Regions from separate parts of the Homo sapiens genome. Here regions 2, 3, 4, 5, 6 and 7 are each linked to region 1. The links are contacts of gene promoters, found by promoter capture Hi-C in blood cells and fetal thymus (Javierre and others, 2016). All regions are on one chromosome and are shown on one strand. Each heading gives the region's core, a stretch centred on a gene start or on the middle of the fragment in contact. The rest is flanking DNA. Distances are from core to core; before and after follow the strand shown. Region 1 holds the start of NUP160 (nucleoporin 160). Region 2 holds the start of SLC39A13 (solute carrier family 39 member 13). Region 3 overlaps CELF1 (CUGBP Elav-like family member 1). Region 4 overlaps CELF1 (CUGBP Elav-like family member 1). Region 5 overlaps CELF1 (CUGBP Elav-like family member 1). Region 6 overlaps CELF1 (CUGBP Elav-like family member 1). Region 7 overlaps PTPRJ (protein tyrosine phosphatase receptor type J).

Region 1 (3,271 bases), core at 202-2,701:
TTTGCTCCCCTCCCTCCCTCCTTTTGGAATCCCTAGTGTTAACTGTTCCCATCCAAAAATGCAATTTTGATGTTAGTAACTCTTTAAAAATCTTTCAATTATTACTCAATGTACTTAGGATAAAATCCAAAAATCCTTAAAAATGGCCTAAGGGTCCCTCATGGTCCGAGTCCTGCCTACCTCTCCAGCCTCAGTATCTCACATCACTTTCTGTTTTACCCACTGCACTTAAGCCACACAGATCTTTGGTCAGTTCCAAACCCGCCACATTCTTTCCACTTCATGACCTTTGCATATGGTGATCCTACTTGCTGGACTCCTCTCTGTCCACTCCCCATGCCTGGCTAACCTCGTGTCCTTTAGATCTCAGGGTAACTGTGAATTCCTTAAAGCCTTTCCCTGCCCCACTAATTATATTTGGTCCTCTTATTAGCCTCTCATAACCCGTATATTTTTCCTCTAGGGCAAGTTTTCCTCCAAAAAATTTCCCCATGAAAAGTGGGTCTACATCTATTCTGACATTGCTACAACGTCTTGCATGATGAAAATTGCAGTTTTGTTCATTTCGTCCTGGTACCTAGCACAATGCCTGACATATTGAAGCTCGAACGTATTTGTACAATGAAGGAAGCTGTAAAGCACTATAAAAACATAACGGGTTCATGTTTAAAATTGGTCTTATGGGCTTTATTCCCCTAAGCTACATTTCCTCTGCTTCTGGTGTTGCTTGGTGTATGTGTGTGTGGGGGTGGGGGGGGGGAGGGGGAGAGGTATCTCTTCTAGAACTCTGTGTCTCAGTTTTCCCGATTCTGATACGAACTGAAAAAACAATCTTTCTCTTTCCCTAAGTGTCAATTACCGCTTCTAGAATAGCACTTTGGGTACAGCGACGAAAATTTATACACCAAACCCTACCTTCCAGGGGAGTTTGGCGAACCACAACACTTACCAATGAATGAACCTGTTTCTGGTTACGGAGAACAACTTGCCACTCTCCACGTAGTAAAAGCCTCCCGCGCTTTCACTGTATTTTACGGCGCCAGCCACGGCATTTGCAGTCCCTGCAAAATGAACGTGGTCAGCCTGCACACGCGTCTTCTGAGAAATGACAGGGACTAAGGGAGCTGACAAAGCAGAGAGTGACAGACTGACAACCCATACAAAGAAAAGAGGAAAACGTCGGACATCAAGGAATCTCTGATCCCGGGGCTAGAGGCATGTGGACTCAGGAGGATGAAACAGGGCGTCAGGGACCCTGGGACCCATGAGAGGAGCCCGAGGGGACAGATGGGATCGCACCCTCCCTGGCCATTTCCGTACCAATGCTGCAGACTGTGAATTCCCGAAAGTGCCTCGGCCTTTCGCGCTCAGCTCCGCTTAGCTCCACGAAGCTCCGTTCCAGGGCTCCCGCCGCCGCCATCTTCCCGCCGTCGCCGCGACGCCCAACGGAACAAAGGCAGGGCCGCGCGGTCGCCGTCACTTCCGGGGGTGGGGCGGGCGGAGCTGCGGACAGGTGAAGCATTCCGGGAGCAGAAAGGCGGCTCCGGCCCTTCGTTGCGAGGCTTCCACCGGGAGAATGAGGGTGGGCAGCGAGGAATCCAGAAGAGAAGGGGGCAGGGGAGGCAGACTCTATCTGCGGGAACCTTCCAGTGGCCGGCTGGAACGCCTCCGGAGGGCGGTGCTCTTTTCTCAGCGGCCGCAGGGCAGGGGGCGGGGCCGGGTTTGTTTCTGTTTCTAAAACGCGGGGCTCAGTCGACCAGGAGGGGCGAGGTCCGGGGAGTCCCGGCCTTTCGGCGTCCTCTGCCGGATCCCGGGTTTATGGTCACCTCTCCCTCGGTTAGGGTGTCCGTCTGTAAATCTTTGGCGATCCTCCCTTCGCTCTTCAGTGGCGACACTTGGGATGGCGGGGTGAGGAAGGGGTAGTGAGGGAAAGGCCTTTGGTTTTGGTCTTTCCCCTCCCCAAGAGACTGTATTCGTGTATTCCTGTATAATGAAACGTAATGTGGTAAACCTTGGTGCTGCCACTTGCTGAGGTTACCTGAGTGCTACTCACTTGGATACGTGAAAGGAATTTGCCATTCCTTCCACCCGTGATCTTGCACTTGGCTGTCAATGCAGTAAGGGCCCATAGTGGGTGTTTAGAAGATATTGTGGGAGTAGATGTTCAAAATCGAGGAAAATGCTAATCTCCAGCGGGGAAGGTTTTGTTCCTTAGTGATAGCCAATAGAAGTTAAAGCACTTCTATTACCAGTGACCACAACCATTCCCTGTCATTCTCCGTTTCATTTATCTGGTTCCGACCATCATTTTCTATCTTTCCACTTCACTCCCTCTGGGACACCAACTTTGGCAGTGCAGTCCCCTCATTCTACCTGGAATCCATTGTTCTACAAAATCTTCACTGTCCCACACTTCTTTGGTGTTTCTTTCTTATCCTGAATACCATTAAATTACTTCATTGCCTAACTCTTCATCGGTAAAAACTACAACTTCGACTACATTCAAATCTGTAGCTGAACATGACTGGAGAAAACTATACACCCGGGTCGGGCGTGGCTCCCAGCATTTTGGGAGGCCAAGGCGTGAGGATCACTTGAGGTCAGGAGTCCGAGACCAGCCTGGCCAACATGGTGAAACCCGGTCTCTACCAAAAATAGAAAAATTAGCCGGGCGCGGTGGCTCACGCCTGTAATCCCAGCGCTCTGGGAGGCAGAGGTGGGTGGATCACGAGGTAAGGAGTTTCAGACCAACCTGGCCAACATGGTGAAACCCTGTCTCTATTAAAGATACAAAAAATTAGCCGGGCATGGTGGTGCACGCCTGTAATCCCAGCTACTCGGGAGGCTGAGGCAGGAGAATCGCTTGAACCTGGGAGGTGGAGGTTGCAGCGAGCCAAGATCGCGCCACTGCACTCCAGCCTGGGTGACAAAGCGAGACTGTCTCAAAAAAAAAAAAAAAAAGAAGAAAGAAAAAAAGAAAAATTAGCTGGGCATGATGGTGCGCTCATGTAATCCCGGCTACTTGGGAAGCTGAGGCAGGAGAATCGCTTGAACCCGGAAGGTGGAGGTTACAGTGAGCCAAGATCTCGCCGTTGCACTCCAGCCTGGGCAACAAGAGCGAAACTCCGTCTCAAAAAAAGAAAAGAAAGAAAACAGAAAACTATACACCCATACTGACATGCCTCCCTGTAACTCCATCAGGACCATGTACCTTGAGTGGGCCCATAATGCTGCCCAGCAAACACATTGTATTTGCCTTCTCCATTTACTG
Region 2 (3,271 bases), core at 620-3,119, 440 kb before region 1:
CAGGGCTCACTGCAGCCTTGACCTCCCGGGTTCAAGCAATCCTTCCACCTCAGCCTCCTGAGTAGCTGGGGCTACAGGTGCGCACCATTACACCTGACTAATTTTAAATTTTTTTGTAGAGACCAGTTCTCAGTTTGTTACCCAGGCTGGTCTGGAACTCCTGGGCTCAAAAGATCTTCCTTCCTAGGCCTCCCAAAGTGCTGGGATTACAGATGTGAGCCACCGGGCCTTAGGTATCCGATGGGAATTCCAGGCCAGGTGGGAGGAAAGGGTAGTGCATTGGCACCAAGTAACGTTTCTGGCTGGGTCTTGCCCATCCCCTTGTTGGGTGGCCAGGAGCGCTCAGCCTCCAGAGGCAGGAATGCTGACTGTGTTATTGTGAAATCATTTGCATATTGTGAAGTGCTTTGCATAAGATGGAGCGCTTTTGCATACAGGGAGGGGGGCATTTTAGAAGTCCTAGGGCAGGATCCCTGAGTAGCTTTTCTTTGCCAAGAAACTAACCCAGGGATTCCATTTTGGAACTCAGGGAGGGAACAGAACGTCCTGGCAGTTGTATGGGCCCGGTGGGGTGAGATGGACAGAAAGCTTCAGAAGACAAGCTGGGCCACCAGGGAGAAGTTGGCGGTCTAAGGAAGGCCAACAGTGCAACATGAAGTGGGACAGGCACCAGAGGCAGCCCTGAGAGCTGAGTGTGCTCTCAAGAGCCCCAGCAGAGGGGAAAGTGACAGAGTAAATGGTTGGAGCTGCCATGGGAGGCTGATGAGGGTCAGAGACTTAAGAGACCTGTACTCAGTCGCTATCTCTGCCCAAGTGAGTACCCACATGCCCCTTCCTGAATCTTCTCCTGTACTGGCTGATTTCCAGAGAAGAATACAAACTCGAAACGCCAAGCCAGACTCCCACTGCTGTTCAGGACCTAGACGTGAGAAGTGGTATCACATACTCTGGCTTCAGGACACCCAGGTTTGAATCCTGGCTCTGCCATCTGTGCCACTGTGTGACCCTGGGCTAACAGTACCCACCACAATGGGATAATATGAGGATTCAGTGAGATAGTGCGAGTAAAGTGAATAGCACATAGTAGGTGGTCAGTAAATTGCGGTTATAAGAACTGCTATCCAGTGTTTGCTGCCTTAGTCTAACCAAAGAGGTCAGGTCTAGCTTCCTCCAGGTGAGGGAAGCACAGAGCCCTCGCCTCCCAGGTTTGGAGTTCCCATCAGCAGGGTCCAGCCACCATGCATTGGACCCCAAAGGGTTACAAGCCCTGGAGACAGTGGCCTGAGGTTCCCAGTGAAAAACCAAAGCATAAAAATAATTCGATGAGTAAGAATAAAATTCCCTCTTCTGAGGTTCCCGGGGCCAGGCCCCTCCCTGCGGCAGGCACTTCCCCTTTCCCTTGCTCATGGAGGAGCCAGGCCGGGCTGACTCAGAGCAGGAGCGCACAGTAGTCCTCCCAGCCCGACCTGGGCGGCGTGGTCTGGCGGCCGGGCGCGCCCCCGTGCGGCCACGGGCAGACTGCGGCCCTGGACGGGAAGCGGCGGCCAGATCCGCAAGCCCCGCAGCCTGGTCGATCGCGGTCCCCGCAGAGCCGCCGCTTCCGTCCCTGCCCAGCCTGGCTGAGCGCGGTGCGTGTGGCTCTCTCACTTCCGACCGACCCTCCCCTCCGGCCCGCAGCCCTGCCCAAACGGAAGTGCGCCCTCTACCCGGGTCCCCCACCGCCGCGAGGCGGAAGCGCCCTCCCGCCGCCACTCCCCCCGACCCCGCGGCACGCGGCGCCTCGGGTTCCGGACAGGCCCCTTGTGACGTGGCCGCGCGCCGGGGGCGGCCCCGGGCCGGGGGCCGGGCGGCCGGGCGGCCGGGCGGGGCAGAGCCTGGGCGGGGCGCGGCACCGCAGCTGGATGGCTGGGGCCGCCCGGATCGCCGCCGCCGCCGCCGCACGGTGAGTGCCAGCAGGACCCTCGGGGCCCGCGCCCCGGGCGTGATGGACCCGGCCGATCCCTCGCCCCGTCCGACTGGTCCTCATCAGACCTGGGCCGGCTCCCAGGACCCGGGAGTCAGGCTCGCCCGCTTCGGCCTCCTCTCCCCCATCGCTCCGCGCCCCACGCCCCATCCCTCCCTCGCTGTCCTCTCCGCGTCCCACCCGCCTCTCTCTAGCTCTCTCACTCTCTACTTTCCTCTCCCCTTGGACTCTCCGTGTATTCCCTCCCGCTAGCCTGTGGTCCCCTCACCTCTGCGTGACCGCCTCGTCCTGGCCCAGTCTTGCCTGTGGTCCCCAGTGGAGCCCCGCTGGCTTCATCAGTGCCCCTGATTAGTTAAGGCCTGGAGGTCCTAGACATGGGCATCTCTGCCACCACCCAGAGGCAGCTGCTTTCTTCCCCTCCCATCTCCATCAGAAGGTGAGGAAACTGAGGCAGGGACATCACCAGCTCAAGGTCACAGCCAGCCTGAGGCAGAGCAGACCACATTTAAACCTCATGCCCGAGTTTCCAGATGGAACTTCTCGCTTGGTTGACTCACGTCCACATCCTGTGATCGGCCGGCTGGGCACATTCCTGCTGCAGGGAGCCCCAGGCCTTCCCTGGCACAGGCAGGGCCTCTGCGCCTCCTCATGCCGGGTACATCCACCTGCACTTTCAGGCTTATCTCGTCCTCACAGCTGAGGCAGGTGATATTGATCCCTGTCCTGCAGATGAGGGCACTGAGGCTCAGAGGGGGGGCTTCAGAGATTTGCCCAGAGTTAGACAGCTCAAAGTGCAGCATAGAATTCACCGTGGGGGCTCTAAAGCCTGCGCTATACAAGAGAGAGGCATCCCCTGGCTAAAGGCTCCTTCCTCATCAGCCCCATCTCCTGTTGCCCTCAGTGCCCTGGGGACATTGGTCTCATGTCCTAGGAAGAAGCGTGGATGGTCTTGCCCTGGCTCATCTGCTCAGTTTCCCCACGTATGTCTCTCTGAATCCACCCCATCCCCTTAGAAGGGGTGCCTCAGTCTCTGGGGTGTCGCGGGCGGCAGGGCCTCCCCTGGCAGCCAGAGACACCCAGCTGGGCCGGGCCGTGCCGCCGGTGGCTGAGGAGAGCCAGCCAGCGCCTCACCCTGTCATTAGGGAAAGTTTAGCCTCAGGCGGAGGTGCTGACACAGTCTGGAGCTGCTCAGAAGGAAAAAATACGCAGTGCTCAGGAGTAGGGTGTGGAGACACAGGGCCCCATTGCTGTGCACCCAGCATTTGGATGCTCAGACGCTCTGGCAAGGACAGCAGGAGGGTGGATGCC
Region 3 (3,271 bases), core at 208-2,707, 370 kb before region 1:
CACCCCTCAGTTTGTCTTCAATCAGGACAAACATCAATCAGAAAGTGAGGAAAATGCCAAATGATATAGCTAAAAGGGACACTGAAACAGAAGACATCCAGACAGAAGATCCTCTGATAGATTTGTAATCTGTAGAGAAGACCTCCTAACAGAAACATTCTTGTCAAATGTGTCAGACCCGATAAGGTCAGTGTCTGTTGCTTCATCTAAAAACTGCAGCCCCATCCCAAGAGGGCACACAGAGGTTCTGATTTGAGCCACATCCAGAAAACATTTAAAAAGCAGATCACACTTCACAGGGTTTCTCAGTCTACACTTGACACTGTCAAAGAAAAACAATGGTCTGACGACCTAACTGGTTCCCTCAGCCTTTGCTCTGCCTTTCCGTTCTGGTATAGGAGGAAAACCGCCCCCCATACCTGACCCCGATCTCCCTTTGCACTCACCTTCCTTCTGGCTTCCAGCAGCACCAATACTCTGCTGTGTCAGAAGATTCTGGTTGTACAGAGTGGGGAGCGCAGCAGCAGCATATTGCTGGATACCCGAGTAGGCCTGAGTGAGGGCCTCCATGGTGCTCCCGGTGCCATTGGAAAGGCCACTGCTGCCCAGGCCACCATTTAAAGCAGCCATTCCTTGGTTGGAGGAAGAGAAGGATTAATATACTAGAAAGACTAAACTGATGCCAAAGACAAGTCTACTTGGGACATCTAGAAGAGGGAAAACTCCAAAGTTCTCCCCTTTATCTCCCTCTTAGTTTCTCCCTGAGAAGAAACTATCTGACTGGCTAGATTTCAGGACATTCACCAGGCCTTGCTAATGGGGACATTAAGAAATGCCATACGCGGGTGTTGTGCTCCCCATTACCTTCATCCAATCTGTGGAATGAGAGCCTCCATTTTCTATCTGGCTATTCTGCCACTTTCTCATAATGAGCTAGAATGTCATAAAAGAAGAGGCCCAAGACTGCAAACTCAAAGGGGTACATGTGATTTCTGACAAGATGTGGGTGAACCCTACCATTAAAACAGCAACTAACAGGTACTAAGTACATTCTATGTGTCATCTACTGTACTATGCAATGTGCTCAGCAGCACTTTACCTATGTTCTAATTTTTTTTTTTTTTTTTGGAGACAGAGTCTCACTCTGTCACCTAGGTTGGAGTTCAGTGGTACAATCATAGCTCACTGCAGCCTCAAGCTCCCAGGCTCAAGCAATCCTCCCGGCCTCAGCCTCCCAAGTAGCTGGGACTACAGGCATGCACCACTACACCCAGATAATTTTTGTAGAGATGGAGTTCTCACTATGTTGCTCAGGCTGGTCTGGAACTTGTGACCTAGGGTGATCCCCTGCTTTGGCCTCCCAAACTGCTGGGACTATAGGTATGAGCCACTGTACCTGGCCTCATTTAATTTTTAACAATCCTTCAAAGTATTCTATTATTCCCACTTCAAAGATGAGAAAATGTCCTTAGAAAGGTGGTCCGAAGTTATAGCTAGCTAACGGACACAGGTGGGATTTAACTCAGGTCTGATTTAAAAATCCCATGCTTTTTTGAGACGGACTCTCGCTCTGTCACCCAGGCTGGAGTGCAGTGGCGCAATCTTGGCTCACTGCAACTTCTGCCTCCCCGGTTCATGCCATTCTCCTGCCTCAGCCTCCCAAGTAGCTAGGACTACAGGCGCCCGCCACCAGGCCCAGCTAATTTTTTTGTATTTTTAGGGGAGACGGGGTTTCACCGTGTTAGCCAGAATGGTCTCGATCTCCTGACCTCGTGATTCGCCCACCTTGACCTCCCAAAGTGCTGGGATTAGAGGTGTGAGCCACCACACCTGGCCCTCATGATTATTTTTAACTTCACTGGGCCACTGCAATCATTCCAGTGGTGCCCCTACCAGGGTTAAGATGTGCTACCTGCACAAAGAATAGTCTGATGACAGCCAGGTGCTGCCCCTTACCTGCCAAAGAGCCAACATTGAGGCCAGCCGTTGCTCCAGCTAATGTCTGCAGGGCTCCAAGTGAGGCTATGGGGTTGACAGAATTACTGCTGCTAGAGCTAGGTGAGGACCCTGCTATTAGAAAGCAAGGAGTTAAAATTCAACCCATCACTGGCATTCTCGCCAAATACAAGAAAAAGTGTCACTATCCAAGTATGCTATTTGTAAAGAGGTTTTCAGTTACTAATTCTAACAACTGTCCTTGCAGGACAGAGACAAATAATGGCCACAGCACATTGAAAATCAGGAAGATTTCTCTTAAGTACAAAAGATGACATTTGAAAATTTGTTGCTCATAATCTGACCTCTCTGGAAACAGGTGTTAACTATTTTCCCTCTCTGGACTCTGCCTTTAAACACAAAGCATCTGTCCAAGGCACATAATGGCACACTGGGTCATCCTCATGCTTACCTGAACTAGTGAGCACGCTGAGGGGACTGCTGGATGTAGTGAGAGCATTGGTACCACTTGGTGTGTTCTGAGCTGCACTAGCTGCAGCAGCTAGTGCAGCCAAATTCTGTAACTGCATTGCATTCAACCCTACAACATCCAAAGCAAGAGATTAGCCAGCAGATAAGGGTGCTTCATATCCATTCCAGCAATGACAAGCACACACTGGCAGAGGGCTGGTCCCTGACAAAGAGGAACTGTTCTAGATAAGCCTTACAAACAACATTACAGGGCTCCAAAAATGATTCATGTATCACTCATTAAGAAACTTGAAATCATTTCCTCAGAGAAGAGATGGCTAATCCAATAGCATACCATGCCAAGTGTACATTAATAAAGGTGTGGGCAATTAGGAAACCAAGAAAAACTGCCTACCATAGGGCCAGGAGCACAGGAGAACAATGCCAAAACCTACAGCACAGAATGGGACTGCATCCAGGCCCCTCACTCACACTTTACAGGGGATTCGCTCTCTGTAATAGAGGGGAACACGCAGAAAACATGGCAGATGCAGAAGGCCCAGGAGCAAACAAGGGAGAACACAGCAGAGCAGCAATGACACAAAGAATAAAGACACTGTCACTTGAATAGCAGATTCATCACCAGAAAGAGGAGAGAGGAAAAATCACTGAGTGAAAGACTTCCAAGTAGAGCCCAGACAACACAGTTGAAAGGGGAAGAAGGAATCTAAACTGTGCTGTCGCTGCTGCAAACCATTTACTAGACAATGGAAAGATGGATGGGGTGAGGGGTGGGGGGAGTGGAAAGAGTAAACGAGAATTAAAATACAATACAGATTACAATCTAGCAACTTTCCAAAAATAT
Region 4 (3,271 bases), core at 543-3,042, 350 kb before region 1:
TGACAGCACTACTTTACAGAATCTGGAACTGGTTAACAGAAACAGGCAGTTAGTAGTGAAGTCAGAAGTGGAAAAGTTGCAACTAGAGATAGCATGGGTTAAATGGAGAAGCTCAAAGTGCTGTGGTCAAAAGACAATGGGTCATGCTACAACAAAGACCTTGAAAACATTATGCTAAGTAAAAGAAACCAGTCACAAAAGGCCACATAGTATATGTTACCATTTATATGAAATGCCCAGAACAGGCAAATCTACAGACAGAAAGTAGGTTGGTGGTTGCTTAGGAATGGGGATGGGGGAAGGGAGACATGGAGAAGAAGAGGGGAATGGTTGCTAATGGGTACAGGGTTTCTTTTAAGGGTGATGAAATGTTCTGCAATTAAATAGTGGAAATGGTTACACAACTCTGGAATATACTAAAAATCACTGAATTGCTCACTTTAAAGGGTAAACTTTATAGTATGTGAATTATGTCTCAATGTGAAGGGGAGGGAGAAGGGATCCGAAGAAAAGTCATGTTGCAACCAAAGTTATAAGGTAGTTAAGAGTAGAAAGGAGGTACATGTAGAGTGAGCAGTTATATATCCTGGAGTCAGAAAGATACACTTTCTAGGTCTTCTAGCTGCAGAGCTCCTGATTAGATTACAGTTCAGTCCACCTGTGTCCTTATAAGAAAGCCCTTTCATATATGCTAGCTTGAGTGGACATCTGTTCCTTGCAGCCAAACAAGACCTTCAAACGGGACCTGTTTAAAAATAATTCCTGAAACCTTTCATTATTTTTTCACTCCCCCTTTCTCATTACCTGTTGACTTCCCTTTAATTATACAAAAAGAAAAAATTCAGATACTTACCAATCCCTCCACCTCCCCAGCAGGCAAAAATACTTGTTGCATTCCAAACTTCTGCTACCACCCACCCTTATACAAGGTCCCTCTGGCTCACATACAGTGCTGTGGAAAAACTGGAACAGAAGTGCGTGAGAATAAAAAGGGCCCAGAAACACTGGCCTGAGTTACTTACCAGCTGCTCCCTAGTGAGAACAAGACAGAATAATACATTTATGCTGTGAGAAAGTTAATTTTCATTTGGATAAAGGTCAATCTTCCTATCATGTGGGGTGTTAGGTACTAGAAAAAGCTATCTCTAAGGACAATAAAGACAATAATAATTTAAAGTCACCATCCAACAACAGAATAGCTAACAATATGCTTTTAAAGGTTTTCAGCCTTCTTCCCTGAGGTATGGAGATAAGATCTGGAGATCTTATCTCTGCAATCATCTTTAATATCATTCATTCAACTGTAATTCCCAAGCTTTTGCTATGGTGCCAGATACTACACACTATAGGGCTCTGTAAGACTGAGCAATATGTGCCCTTGAGGCAATGTCACTGAAAAAGTAGAAGGGCACAACTATAATCCTCTACAAATCCTATAAAGGAATGTTTAAAAGTTCTATGAAAGAAGTGGCTAATATGATTTTACTTTATTTGGAGGAGGGGGAGGTGTGTGTGCAGAGATTTCAGCTGCATAGAGTAGGCAACTAGAAAAAGTGCTACGTGGCATGGAGGAAAGAGGCCTAAGGGTGATGAAGAAATGGTAAGGACTGAGGAGAGATGGGAAAAGTGGGATAACATCAGAAGGGAGAAAAAGGACTTGAGAAAGTTGTGGGCAGAGTACAGAAACAGAGAAGAGATCATACTAGAAAGCTGACTAAGAATAAAGAGGTAGGTCAGAGAGACCCAGTGAAGGGCTTTCCATGTTATAGACAGGTTTGGAGTTTATTCCAAGATTTTAGATTAAGTGAATGATCAGATCTGTCCTTTTAAAAGATACCTAAAAATAATCTGGAGGATGAAATAAGGCAGGGAACATGGAGATCAGAAGGCTCTTGCATAAACTAGTACCTAAGATTAGCACCCAGTCTCAGCCAATACTGAGGAATTTTGGGCCAGGATACACTAGGATCTGGAGTTCACTTGAACTCCAAGGAGGAGAGGAAGAGAAAGAAACTAACAACTCTTGGGTTCTAGTGAAGACAATATGGGAATTACTTTTTGTGGGGAAGTCTCTAGATGAAAAGTAATCAATGAGCAGTATTTAGAATAAAGTCTTAGACCTCAGAAGACATTTGGGGGAACAGAGATCTGAGAAGCAGAGAAGCACATCAGTGTCCCCTTAAGCAATGGGAGAATGAAAAGAAAAAAGTCTGGGACACAACTCATGAAAATATCCATATCTTAGGATGCAGGCAAAGTAGCACCAGTGGAAGCTTAAGAGTGATCAATGAAGAATCAAGAACATTGGCTAACCGTTCACTGACACTAGAGGCAGCCTGGTCTAGTGGGCAAAAATAAAAAGACCTTTACCTTTAAACTTGTACTTCAGGCCCAACACTGATTACTATTTGTCCTCAATCTCTCTCTCAACTGGGTTTCTCATGTTTAAAATCGGGGCAATGGCCTACGCCCAGGCACCCTTGCAAAGTTTTGGTGAAGATGGGTGACTAAAACAGATGCAAACGTACTTGGAAAAAATGTTGACAATCCATTCCCCGACTGACTCTGAGAATGACCTGTGTTAAGTCCACTAGCTCTCGAACTTTAGTGTGCACAAAAAAACATGCTGGACACTTGTTTCTAGAGTCTTGGGGGTCCTATTCTAGAATAAAAACATCTGAATTTTTAAGTTCCAGGTGACTTTCATGCAGTGGTCCATGGTCCAGATTTAATGGGATATTGAATGGGTCCAATCTCTTAAAAGATTAGAAAGCAGGCTGAGAAGAATGCTGTGTCAATGTTGGGTTGAACACCAGGCAGTGGCAAAGCACAGGAAGTATTACAATGAAAGACAATTTGAGCAACAGCCTTGTTTCTAAGGATCATAAATCCTGGGACATGGAAATATCCTTATTATGTATTAAATCTTTATCATGATATTCACTTTAATTTCACCTGTTACAGCTAAAATAAAATTTTAGTAGTAAAGAACTCTCATAAAAAGACATTTAAATTACCGTAATTTTGGAGACTACAGAGGAGGCATAAGATCCACTTCAAAAGAGTAAGACAGGCCAGGTGCCGAGGCAGCAGGATAGCTTGAGCCCAGGAGTTCAAGACCAGCCTGGGCAACACAGGGAGACCTCATATCTACAAAAAGTTTAAAAATTAGCCAGGTGGTGGTGCATGCCTGTGGTCCCAGCTACTTGGGAAGCGGAGGCGAGAGGACTGCTTGAGCCCAGGAGGTTGAGGCTACAGTGAACTGTGACTG
Region 5 (3,271 bases), core at 253-2,752, 330 kb before region 1:
AATCTAATTCTTTCTATAGTTCCTGTTTCTTTACCATGGCAGTACTGTCAACAATGGACAACAAATTGCTGGATGCAGCAGTAGCAATTTACATATGGTAGCTAAGCTAATGCACAGCTTTCTCTGGGCAGAATTACTAACGCTTCTACCTATCATTGCAGTTTGAACCCAATGTTCCAGGCACACCAGTGTTAAGTATTTGCCTGGTGGCTTCTACCTTCAAAGGCACAGGGAATGATACACAGAAGTAATACACAGAAGTGAGGGAGGTGGAGGGAGTGGGAGCTCTGAACCCACCGAGGGAGGGTGCTCGCTCCAAGGACTGTGACACCAGACAAAGTACCTAATTCAAACCCAAAGGCTCAGTCATTCAACCTTTCCATAATATTCATGATCACTTGCTCAAATCTGGCATGTTCTAAGACCACAGTTCCTTCTTAGTTTCACTGCCCTGCCATGAGGCCAAATCTGTCTTATCTAGTGAGTCACTACTGCTCCTCTTTCCAACTGCATTTTGATTTCAGCCCACTTGTGCAGCTCATCAGGGCTGCACCATATGTTAGTACCATGTAGGCAGAATGTGACTAATTTTTTTCTCAAGCCCTGTCAGAGCGACTTTTAAAATCACCTTATAATCTTGATGTCTCTTGCGGAGTCATTATAACACATAACCTTTGGAAAGGACTATAATTATTTTTCTGAGTGCTCAAAGGAGATTCTTCAGCATTTTCATTCCCATTTTTCAGATGAAGGAACTAAAGGGAAGATAAGGGATTAAGAGACCTGGGTTCCACAACCAACCACTGGGACTTGGACTTTCTTGAGTCACAGTGCTGTATTTGGTAAAATAAGGCAGCTTGTAAAATGCCTTTTATTGGGAAACTCAAAATATTACTTTGCCTCTCTTTATTATTTACTTATTTATTTTTTTTTAGATAGAGTCTTGCTCTGTCACCCAGGCTAGAGGGTAGTGGTGCAATCTTGGCTCCCTGCAACCTCTGCCTCCCGGGTTCAACATGGTGAAACCCTATCTCTACTAAAAATACAAAAATTAGCTGGGCATGGTGGCAGGCGCCTGTAATCCCAGCTACTTGGGAGGCTACGGCAGGAAGAATTGCTTGAACCCAGGAGGTGAACTGAAATCATGTCACTGCACTCCAGCCTGGGTGACAGAGCAAGACTCTGTCTCAAAATAAAAAATAAAAATAAAAAGAGAGAGAGAAAAGGACTGAATGGCCCATGGACCACAAATGTTTTTTGAATTGGTCAAGATCATAATAAGTGAGTGAAAGTAATGCTCTAATACACTGAAAGTAAAATAGAGATGACTTGCAGATTTAGCTAGTATCACCAAATTCCCCCGAATTTAGTTTAAAAGGAAGGCGAGCAGCTGCTTCCACCTCCTCTAGGCAACCTGCCTCTTCTCCAACAATAATAGCAATAATGGTTGCTACAGCTGATAATTAAGCTCATCTCAAGAGGGTTTCTTAAATCTTCCGGGTATTGCAGATCCTATGTTTATTCTAGCAACTCTTTAGGGTAATTGCTTGACTGACATTGCAATTATTAGGCCTCCCCATCTCCATTAATAATATTCTCTTTTTTTTTTTTTGTTTGAGACAGAGTCTCGCTCTGTCGCCTAGGCTGGAGTGCAGTGGCATGATCTTGGCTCACTGCAATCTCTGCCTCCCAGTTGTAAGCAATTTTCCTGCCTCAGCCTCCCCAGTAGCTGGGACTACAGGCCCAAGCCACCAAGCCTGGCTAATTTTTATATTTTTTTAGTAGAGACAAGGTTTCATCATGTTGGCCAGGCTGGTTTTGAACTCCTGACCTCAGGTGATCCACTTGCCTCAGTGTCCCCAAGTGCTGGGATTACAGACATGAGCCACCACGCCCAGCTCACTAGTATTTTTCAATGGATAATATCACTTGCAAAATATAAAAAGGGATAGTATCTCATCAATATTGAAAACTGAGCTGAGCACAGTGGCTCACACTTATAATCTCAGCACTTTGGGAGGACTGCTTGAGCCCACAAGTTCCAGACCAGCCCAGGCAATATAGTGAGACTTATCTCTACAAAAAAATTCAAAAATTAGCTGGGTGTGGTGGCACGTGCCTGTAGTCCCAGTTACTTGGGAAGCTGAGGCGGGAGAATCACTTGAGCCCAGGAGGTCGGGCTGCAGTGAACTGTGATCATGCCACTGCACTCCAGCCTGGACAACTGAGAGAGAGCCTGTCTAAAAAAACAAACAGAGAAAAAAAAAAAAAAAAAAAGACATGCCCTTTGAATTCAGCAATCCCAGTTCTAGAAATATAGTTTACAAATAATCTTGTATCTGATGTATACAAAGTATGCAAAGGGGCATTCATAAGAACATTGTTTACATCAGCAAAACCTGAAAACATATGCCCATTAATTGAAGGCTATTAAATACAGTATAACCATACAACAGAACACTATGTAGCTATTAAAGAAAATAAGGCAGCTAACTGATCAAGACGTATTCATATAATAAGAAAGGAATTACACATGGCTTGTATATGAACAGAGTATCTCTGGATGGATAAAGAAATAACTGCTAACAGTAGTTGTAGAGGTGGAACAGTGGTTGAATTGTTTACATGTGAACACGTTACCTATTCTACAGAAATTTTTTTTTTTTTGAGACGAAGTTATGCTCTTGTTGCCCAGGCTAGAGTACAATGGCGCAATATTGGCTCACTGCAACCTCCGCCTCCCGGGTTCAAGCAATTCTACTGCCTCAGCCTCCCGAGCAGCTGGGATTACAGGCACCTGCCACCAAACCCAGCTACTTTTTTGTATTTTTAGTAGAGATGGGGTTTCACCATGTTGGCCAAGCTGGTCTCGAACTCCTGACCTTAGGTGATCGACCTGAAGTGCTAGGATTACAGGCACGAGCCACTGTGCCCGGCCTACTGAAAATTTTTTTAAAGAAAACTTGAGCTTTTGGAGCATGGCAACCTAGCCTGCAGACACCGTATCCCCTTGTCCACTTCCCCCTGCAACCCATAAGTCCATTCCTACCACTTAAAAAAAGGAAAACTCGTGGAACTATAAAGCACAAAGTAAAGAAAAACCTCAACTCATACTCTTTTCCAAAACAGCATTTTGGTTTTGTATTTTTTTCCTGCTTTGCCTGAAACTTCTGTGTGGAAACTGCCATTGTCCAGGTGATCCAGCAGTATATCATAATTACATCACACCATTTTAAATGACCCCAGCAACTCAAATAACGTTCATGCAGCT
Region 6 (3,271 bases), core at 453-2,952, 310 kb before region 1:
ACCATGTTGGCCAGGCTGGTGTCAAACTCCTGACCTCAGGTGATCCACCTCGGCCTCCCAAAGTGCTGGGATTACAGGCGTGAGCCACCATGCCCAGTGTACAATTGCTCTTTTATGATGAGAGAAAAACAATGTATAGCTTTAAAATGGGGAATCCACATAAAACTATCTTCCCTTTGAACTCCAGTACAGGGGCTTTTGCCAATTAAACAAGTCACCTCCACCTGAGGAAAGAGGCAGACGCTGCCTGCCCAGGATGCTGTAGAAGGGATTCCTTCCATGGATAGAAAGTTTCTCTGCATAACTTTTGTAAAGGTCCTTTGCTAACCTCAGAAACTGATTTCACTATGAAAAGTAGAGGAAAGGTGAATCCAATGTGTGGGTAGAAACAACAGAACAGTGCTGGGAAAATTCCTGCTTCTATCTCTATGTGAATTTAAGTAAGGCATTCCATGTCCCTCATTTTCAAAATGATAGGATTAAAGAAGAAAAAAATCTCTGAAGTTTCTAGCATTTTCAGCCTATAGCTTACTTTTTCTCCCTCCTATGCCAGCCTGGGCCACCCACCACCTTCCCACTGCTGCAGCACCTTACCATAATTAGGCAGCTTTTTAAAGCTTCTAATTAACGGAACACAGAAATTAAAACCTTTAAACTTTCTTTTCTATTTCTGGCTCACTGCAAATGTGCAACAGCATTTTATTAAGGAGTTGTTAATGCCACACAGTTCTTGCTATACTGGCTTTTCTCTGAACCCCAGTGACAGTTACACAGTGACAAGTTGTAAGCAAAGAGGTTGTTACCATGGGAACCCACTAGGATTCCTGGGGGTGGATCCAGAAGGCTTTTTTTTTTCTATCACAGTATTTTTTTTTTTTGATGTTCTGGATCTGGCAATTCAGAAAGCTGATCTTATTATTTCAGCAAGCTACCTTCAAGAAATAGTACCATACAGTATACATTTCTGAAGAAATATTAGACCAAGCGCAGTGACTCACGCCTGTAATACCAGCAATTTGGGAAGCTGAGGCGGGGGGATCACTTGAGGTCAGGAATTCAAGACTAGCCTGGCCAACATGGTGAAACCCCATTTCTACTAAAAATACAAAAATTGGCCGGGTATAGTGGCTCATGCCTATAATCCCAGCACTTTGGGAGGCCAAGGCAGGCAGATTGCCTGAGCTCAGGAGTTCACGACCAGCCTGGGCAACATGGTGAAACCCCCTCTCTACTAAAATACAAAAAATTAGCCAGGCATGGCAGTGTATGCCTGTAGTCCCAGCTACTCAGGAGGCTGAGGCAGGAGAACTGCTTAAACTCCGGAAGGCGGAAGTGGCAGTGAGCTGAGATCGCACCACCGCACTCCAGCCTGGGCTACAGAGCGAGACTCCATTTCAAAAAATAAATAAATACATACATACATACATACATAAATTAGCTGAGCATGGTGGCGGGCACTTGCAATCCCAGCTACTTGGGAGGCTAAGGCAGAAGCATCACTTGAACCTAAGAGGCAGGGGTTACAGTGAGCTGAGATTGCTCAAGTGCACTCCAGCCTGGGCAATAGAGCGAGACTCTCCCCCAAAAAAAAAAAAAAAAAAAAAAGGAATATTTATAACTATTTTAGTGACACTCTGTTGCACAATAGTTAAATATATTCAACTCTTAGTTTTTCCCCTCCCTCTTCATAAAAGCAGCTACATCAATATAAACTCAACTGAAGTTTCTATGACCTATGTATGCTGCTATTTCTTTCCAGACCACAACATAAGTTATATTTAGCATTTTTTCTTTCCTTTTTTTTTTTTTTTTTTTTTTGGACATAGAGTTTCACTCTTGTTGCCCAGGCTGAAGTACAGTGACACAATCTCTGCTCACTGCAACCTCCGCCTCCTTAGTTCAAACTACTCTCCTGCCTCAGCCTCCGAAGTAGCTGAGATTACAGGCGCCTGCCACCATGCCCGGCTAATATTTTGTATTTCTAGTAGAGATGGGGTTTCACCACATTGGCCAGGCTGGTCTCGAACTCCTGACCTCAGGTGATCCACCCGCCTTGGCCTCCCAAAGTGCTGGGATTACAGGCATGAGCCACGGCGCCTGGCCATATTTAGTATTTTTTCTATCAAGATTTCAATGTTTTCCAAAGTTCAAGAAATCTCAGCTTCTCTACACAATTATGTTAGAAATATATCAGACACAAAATTATAAAAATAAAGCTGGCCGGGCGCCATGGCTCATGCCTGTAATCCCAGCACTCTGGGAGGCCAAGGCAGACAGATCACAAGGTAAGGAGACCGAGACCATCCTGGCTAACATGGTGAAACCCTGTCTCTACTAAAAACATACAAAAAATTAGCCGGGCGTGGTGGTGGGCAACTGTAGTCCCAGCTACTCGGGAGGCTGAGGCAGGAGAATGGTGTGAACCCAGGAGGTGGAGCTTGCAGTATGCAGAGATCGCACCACTGCACTCCAGCCTAGGCGACAGAGCGAGACTCCATCTCAAAAATAAATAAAATAAAATAAAATAAGCCAAGAGAAGTATAAGTTCAATCTCCAAGTATGCCTCCAAAACTGTAGTGTGTAGATAAATGTGATGTTAAATTACGTTTAGGGAGATGAACTGCCACTCCCAGCTAAATGTGTGTTGTCACTCAGTTCCCTGGAGACCCATTCTGTTAGAAGATATCTTAAGAAAACAGATCATTTACAAGTCTGATCTGTGGATCTGTTTTTTTCAGAAGTGGAACAGTCAGAATTAGAAAAAAAAAAATTTTTTTCCCTAAGTTGGAAGCTTTCTGGAAAAGGGTTAAGTCTTTCCATAGATCTAGCTTAGCCCCAGAGCAAACTTATACCAGACAAATGAACATTAACAAAAACAGCACTTGATTTCACAGTAATAATCTAGAACTTCAGCTACCCTACGCCTGATCCATAATAGTTTGAGCCAGAAAAGTACCTGGCACAAATTTCAAGAGTATCCCTCACACTAATAACTACTGAAACCTAAATATAAATTCCATTTAAATGTGTTGAAAACCAAACTCAGAACCAATTCATACAACAAATTCACAAACCAAAAGAAAAAAAAAATGGTTCTATGGAGATAAGATATACCATTAACTACCGTAGGCAATAGTTATTAAGATACTCCACAAACATATTATGTCTTGGGCTGGGCGAGATGGCTCACACCTGTAATCCCAGCACTTTGGGAGGCCGAGGCAGGCGGATCAGTTGAGTTCAGGAGTTCGAGACCAGCCTGACCAACATG
Region 7 (3,271 bases), core at 490-2,989, 320 kb after region 1:
ATACTAAGTATAACCCTCCTCACTTCTCCCTCTTCCTCTCCCCCTCCTTCTCCCCTTGCCCGCTCCCACTCCCTTTCCTCTCCCTCCTCCCTCTCCCTCCTCCCTCTCCCTCCCTTTTTCTTCCTCTTCCCCCACCTCCATCTCTCACAGCTGGTTTCTGTCTTTGGATCAGTACTTCTGGTTAAATGTGTGAATGTTAACTTTATCTGTGATGAGGTCTTCTAGCACCTCTCCCTTCACTCTGTCTGTTTTTCCTGTTTTCCAAATTTTGAATACTGCACATTCTTATCATGAATATACATTTCAAAAAATGAGTGTCAAAGGGCAGCTGTCATAATGGAGATGGAAATGCCTGCAGTGCAGATGTAGGTCACATGGGTACGGATGTAGGTCACATGGGTATGGTCATTCCCTGGTATGGGCATAACGAGTACAGCTGAGTCAGGGACAGGACTCGCCCCAGCTGGGGTGGGCTTCTGGTGCTTCAAGGTATATGCTTTGGTATGAGGTAGGGAACCAGTCTGTGTAATAATGAGCTCTATTGTCTTTCAGATGTTGAAATGGATGGTTTTTTGGGGGAGTCCTTTCTCAGCTCTCTCCAATTCTAAATATTTGCATGGTGCTTGCTAGTGGCCTGTCACTTTATTCACTTCTCTAGGGGACATAGTGAATTATGAGGCCATTCTTGCCTAGAAGGCACTGATTATCATGGTGTATTTGAGTAAATTATTTTTGGTTTTATTGTCAGTGACATTCCCAGGGGGGCTCGGGGATGGGGCTCATGCAGCTCTAAGGAGGTGCAGGTGTAAGAATGTGAGTTCATTATTGATAGGCAGCTGTGGCAGGAAGGGAAGGATCTGAATGCAGAATTGGAGGATGAGGGACTTCTGTTGCATCTGAAATCAGTGTTGGGGAAATGACTTCACTTCTGTGAATCTCTGCTGCCTCATCTTTAAAGGGGGATAATAAACTCTCCTTCTTGAGCATATTGTGAGGGTTTGATGAGCAAGCACTTTATCAGCTGCTGTGCAAATGTAAAGTTTAATTTTTAGTCATTACAACTCCTGGTTAGTACTCAGGCTCTGCTTGATTTCCCCTGCCTTTTTGATGTTGTTAGGCAGCCTTTCTGTCTGGATCTAAATCATTTTCTGGGCTTTTAGATCCAGACAAGTGAGAGTCACCCTCTGAGACAGTTCCATTTCACCTCCTGGCCAGACCACGGTGTTCCCGACACCACTGACCTGCTCATCAACTTCCGGTACCTCGTTCGTGACTACATGAAGCAGAGTCCTCCCGAATCGCCGATTCTGGTGCATTGCAGGTACGCAGATGGCACGTCACGTGTGACAGATTTCAAATGTCATTATATATTTATGAGCACTTTACAAAAGCAAAGCCTAAGAGGGAATGTAATAGGCATTTATGAATTCAGGAAAGGTTTGGATAAGGAACCATGGACTTACTCCCTAAGCCCTGAGCTTCCAAAACAGGGGTTGGCAAACTGTAACCCATGGATCAAATCTGGTCAGCTGCTGTTTTTGTAAATAACATTTTCTAGGAACACAGCATGCCCATTTATTTATATATTGTTTATGGTTGCTTTTCTGCTACAGTGACAGAAAGAGACCATATGGTTTGCAAAGCTTAAGATGTTAACTATCTGGCCCTTTACTGAAAAAGTTTGCCAACCCCTAACAATAAGAAGTTAGCTTTGAAGCTAAAGGAATTAATTTAGGACAGAAGACAGGAGGGGCTCTGTTGCCCAGTGGGGAAAAAATGGCTAAAATGTGCCGCCATCCTGGGTTATGGGCAACTTGAATGGAACTGAGATTGAAGAAGCTTGAGCAAAGGGTTATATGTGTGGCATCTGACTCAAATGTGAGTTTGGGACTTAGGCCCCAGTCCCAAGCTAGTGCTGTCTGACTTGCTGAGGCTTCAACTGAGCAAATGTGTACTGATCCTGTGCATTGCCCTCAAAGTGTGACAGTGAAGGAAAGCAAGATATATGTACAAATGAGGAACTCTAAGAGGGTTGCAGTCGAGGGAACCCACTGTAATAGGCTTATTTCTCTTTTCTCTCAGTGCTGGGGTCGGAAGGACGGGCACTTTCATTGCCATTGATCGTCTCATCTACCAGATAGAGAATGAGAACACCGTGGATGTGTATGGGATTGTGTATGACCTTCGAATGCATAGGCCTTTAATGGTGCAGACAGAGGTGAGGCCAAGATCTGTATTTGACATTCCACCCTTCCCCTCCATTTTTTTTTTTTTTTTTTTTTTTTTTGAGACGGAGTCTTGCTCTGTCGCCCAGGCTGGAGTGCAGTGGCATGATCTTGGCTCACTGCAACCTCTGCCTCCTGGGTTCAAGTGATTCTCCTGCCTCTGCCTCCCAAGTAGCTGGGATTACAGGCACGCACACCATGCCCAGCTAATTTTTGTAATTTTAGTAGAGACGGTGTTTCTCCATGTTGGCCAGGCTGGTCTCGAACTCCTGACCTCAAGTGATCTGCCTGCCTCAGTGTCCCGAAGTGCTGGGATTACAGGCATGAGCCACTTTGCCTGGCCCTTCCCCTCCATTTTTAAAAGGTTGCATTGTGTCATGCACTTGTGTTAAAATATGTCACCCTTCCAGATCTTTCCAGCTCTTGGCTGTGAACTAACACTGGATTTCTTTGCAGACTTTAAGCTGACTTGGAATTAAATTACCCAATACAAGTGACATAGTAGTACTGATGTCAGTAATGGAACTACTACTGAGATAGTGTCAGGATTCTTTACCTTGCTGCCTCTGACTCATTAAATAATCTTAGGACATCTTTGAACTTTGGCTTCCAGGTTTTAAACTCATAAAACTGGTATTTTCCAGTCTTTGTTTCTAAGAAGGTCTGACCATCTTTAAAATAAGCTAATGAAACAAACTCATCAAACATTAATGATGTGACATATCATAATGCTGCTTAAATGTTAATACAGCAATTTATCCTCACCCAGACTTGTACATTTTAAAGACTATCAATTATCATAGCTACAGAAGGGTGGCTGACCAGCGGAGAAAAGGAACACTTAATATCTATGGTATAGTTTCTGTACTACTGCTGGATTTGGTTTTACCCAAACTGTTACTGAGAAGTGTTTTTGAGGCATGTTTTCAACAGAACATATTGCAAAGTTGCTTTCCTCAAAGGGGTGAATGTTCCTTGACCAGGATGAGAGCAGAATATTAATTTTGTATCAGGCTATCGTCCTGTACCGATTTAGAACTCTATGA

The links. Contacts are between HindIII fragments. The CHiCAGO score rates a contact against its expected background, and 5 or more counts as called.
Region 2: the fragment with the promoter of SLC39A13 here is called in contact with the fragment with the promoter of NUP160 in region 1 in 1 of 17 cell types (activated CD4 T cells); the score reaches 5.2 in activated CD4 T cells.
Region 3: a fragment that was not itself captured here is called in contact with the fragment with the promoter of NUP160 in region 1 in 3 of 17 cell types (naive B cells, erythroblasts and endothelial precursors); the score reaches 5.8 in naive B cells.
Region 4: a fragment that was not itself captured here is called in contact with the fragment with the promoter of NUP160 in region 1 in 4 of 17 cell types (erythroblasts, naive B cells, total B cells and 1 more); the score reaches 7.2 in erythroblasts.
Region 5: a contact is called between a fragment that was not itself captured here and the fragment with the promoter of NUP160 in region 1, in 1 of 17 cell types (naive B cells). The highest score is 5.5, in naive B cells.
Region 6: a contact is called between a fragment that was not itself captured here and the fragment with the promoter of NUP160 in region 1, in 2 of 17 cell types (erythroblasts and M2 macrophages). The highest score is 6.1, in erythroblasts.
Region 7: a contact is called between a fragment that was not itself captured here and the fragment with the promoter of NUP160 in region 1, in 1 of 17 cell types (naive B cells). The highest score is 5.6, in naive B cells.

What each region holds. Positions count from the first base shown.
Region 1 is chr11:47,846,899-47,850,169 of GRCh38, forward strand. It overlaps NUP160 (nucleoporin 160), which reads right to left and starts at 1,452. Exons shown (of 36, transcript NM_015231.3): 1 at 1,321-1,452; 2 at 950-1,061. The coding sequence starts at 1,420. RefSeq lists an enhancer at 1,390-1,949. The HindIII fragment of the contact is 7,211 bases long and covers 1-3,271 here.
Region 2 is chr11:47,406,721-47,409,991 of GRCh38, forward strand. It overlaps SLC39A13 (solute carrier family 39 member 13), which reads left to right and starts at 1,870. Exons shown (of 10, transcript NM_001128225.3): 1 at 1,870-1,942. It overlaps SLC39A13-AS1 (SLC39A13 antisense RNA 1), which reads right to left and starts at 2,562. Exons shown (of 4, transcript NR_182308.1): 1 at 2,232-2,562. RefSeq lists enhancers at 1,152-1,974, 2,263-3,129, 3,130-3,271 and a silencer at 1,383-2,172. The HindIII fragment of the contact is 27,134 bases long and covers 587-3,271 here.
Region 3 is chr11:47,474,890-47,478,160 of GRCh38, forward strand. It overlaps CELF1 (CUGBP Elav-like family member 1), which reads right to left. Exons shown (of 15, transcript NM_001376376.1): 11 at 2,408-2,536; 12 at 1,957-2,070; 13 at 447-632. Among named protein-coding and RNA genes, the nearest start is that of RAPSN, 27 kb to the left of the region's middle. The HindIII fragment of the contact is 4,253 bases long and covers 1-3,271 here.
Region 4 is chr11:47,495,090-47,498,360 of GRCh38, forward strand. The region is part of intron 3 of CELF1 (CUGBP Elav-like family member 1); the gene reads right to left. Among named protein-coding and RNA genes, the nearest start is that of RAPSN, 48 kb to the left of the region's middle. The HindIII fragment of the contact is 958 bases long and covers 1,314-2,271 here.
Region 5 is chr11:47,515,003-47,518,273 of GRCh38, forward strand. All of the region lies in intron 1 of CELF1 (CUGBP Elav-like family member 1), which reads right to left. Among named protein-coding and RNA genes, the nearest start is that of CELF1, 36 kb to the right of the region's middle. The HindIII fragment of the contact is 4,290 bases long and covers 1-3,271 here.
Region 6 is chr11:47,532,227-47,535,497 of GRCh38, forward strand. The region is part of intron 1 of CELF1 (CUGBP Elav-like family member 1); the gene reads right to left. Among named protein-coding and RNA genes, the nearest start is that of CELF1, 19 kb to the right of the region's middle. The HindIII fragment of the contact is 2,174 bases long and covers 616-2,789 here.
Region 7 is chr11:48,162,298-48,165,568 of GRCh38, forward strand. It overlaps PTPRJ (protein tyrosine phosphatase receptor type J), which reads left to right. Exons shown (of 25, transcript NM_002843.4): 23 at 1,161-1,321; 24 at 2,083-2,218. Among named protein-coding and RNA genes, the nearest start is that of OR4B1, 53 kb to the right of the region's middle. The HindIII fragment of the contact is 196 bases long and covers 1,642-1,837 here.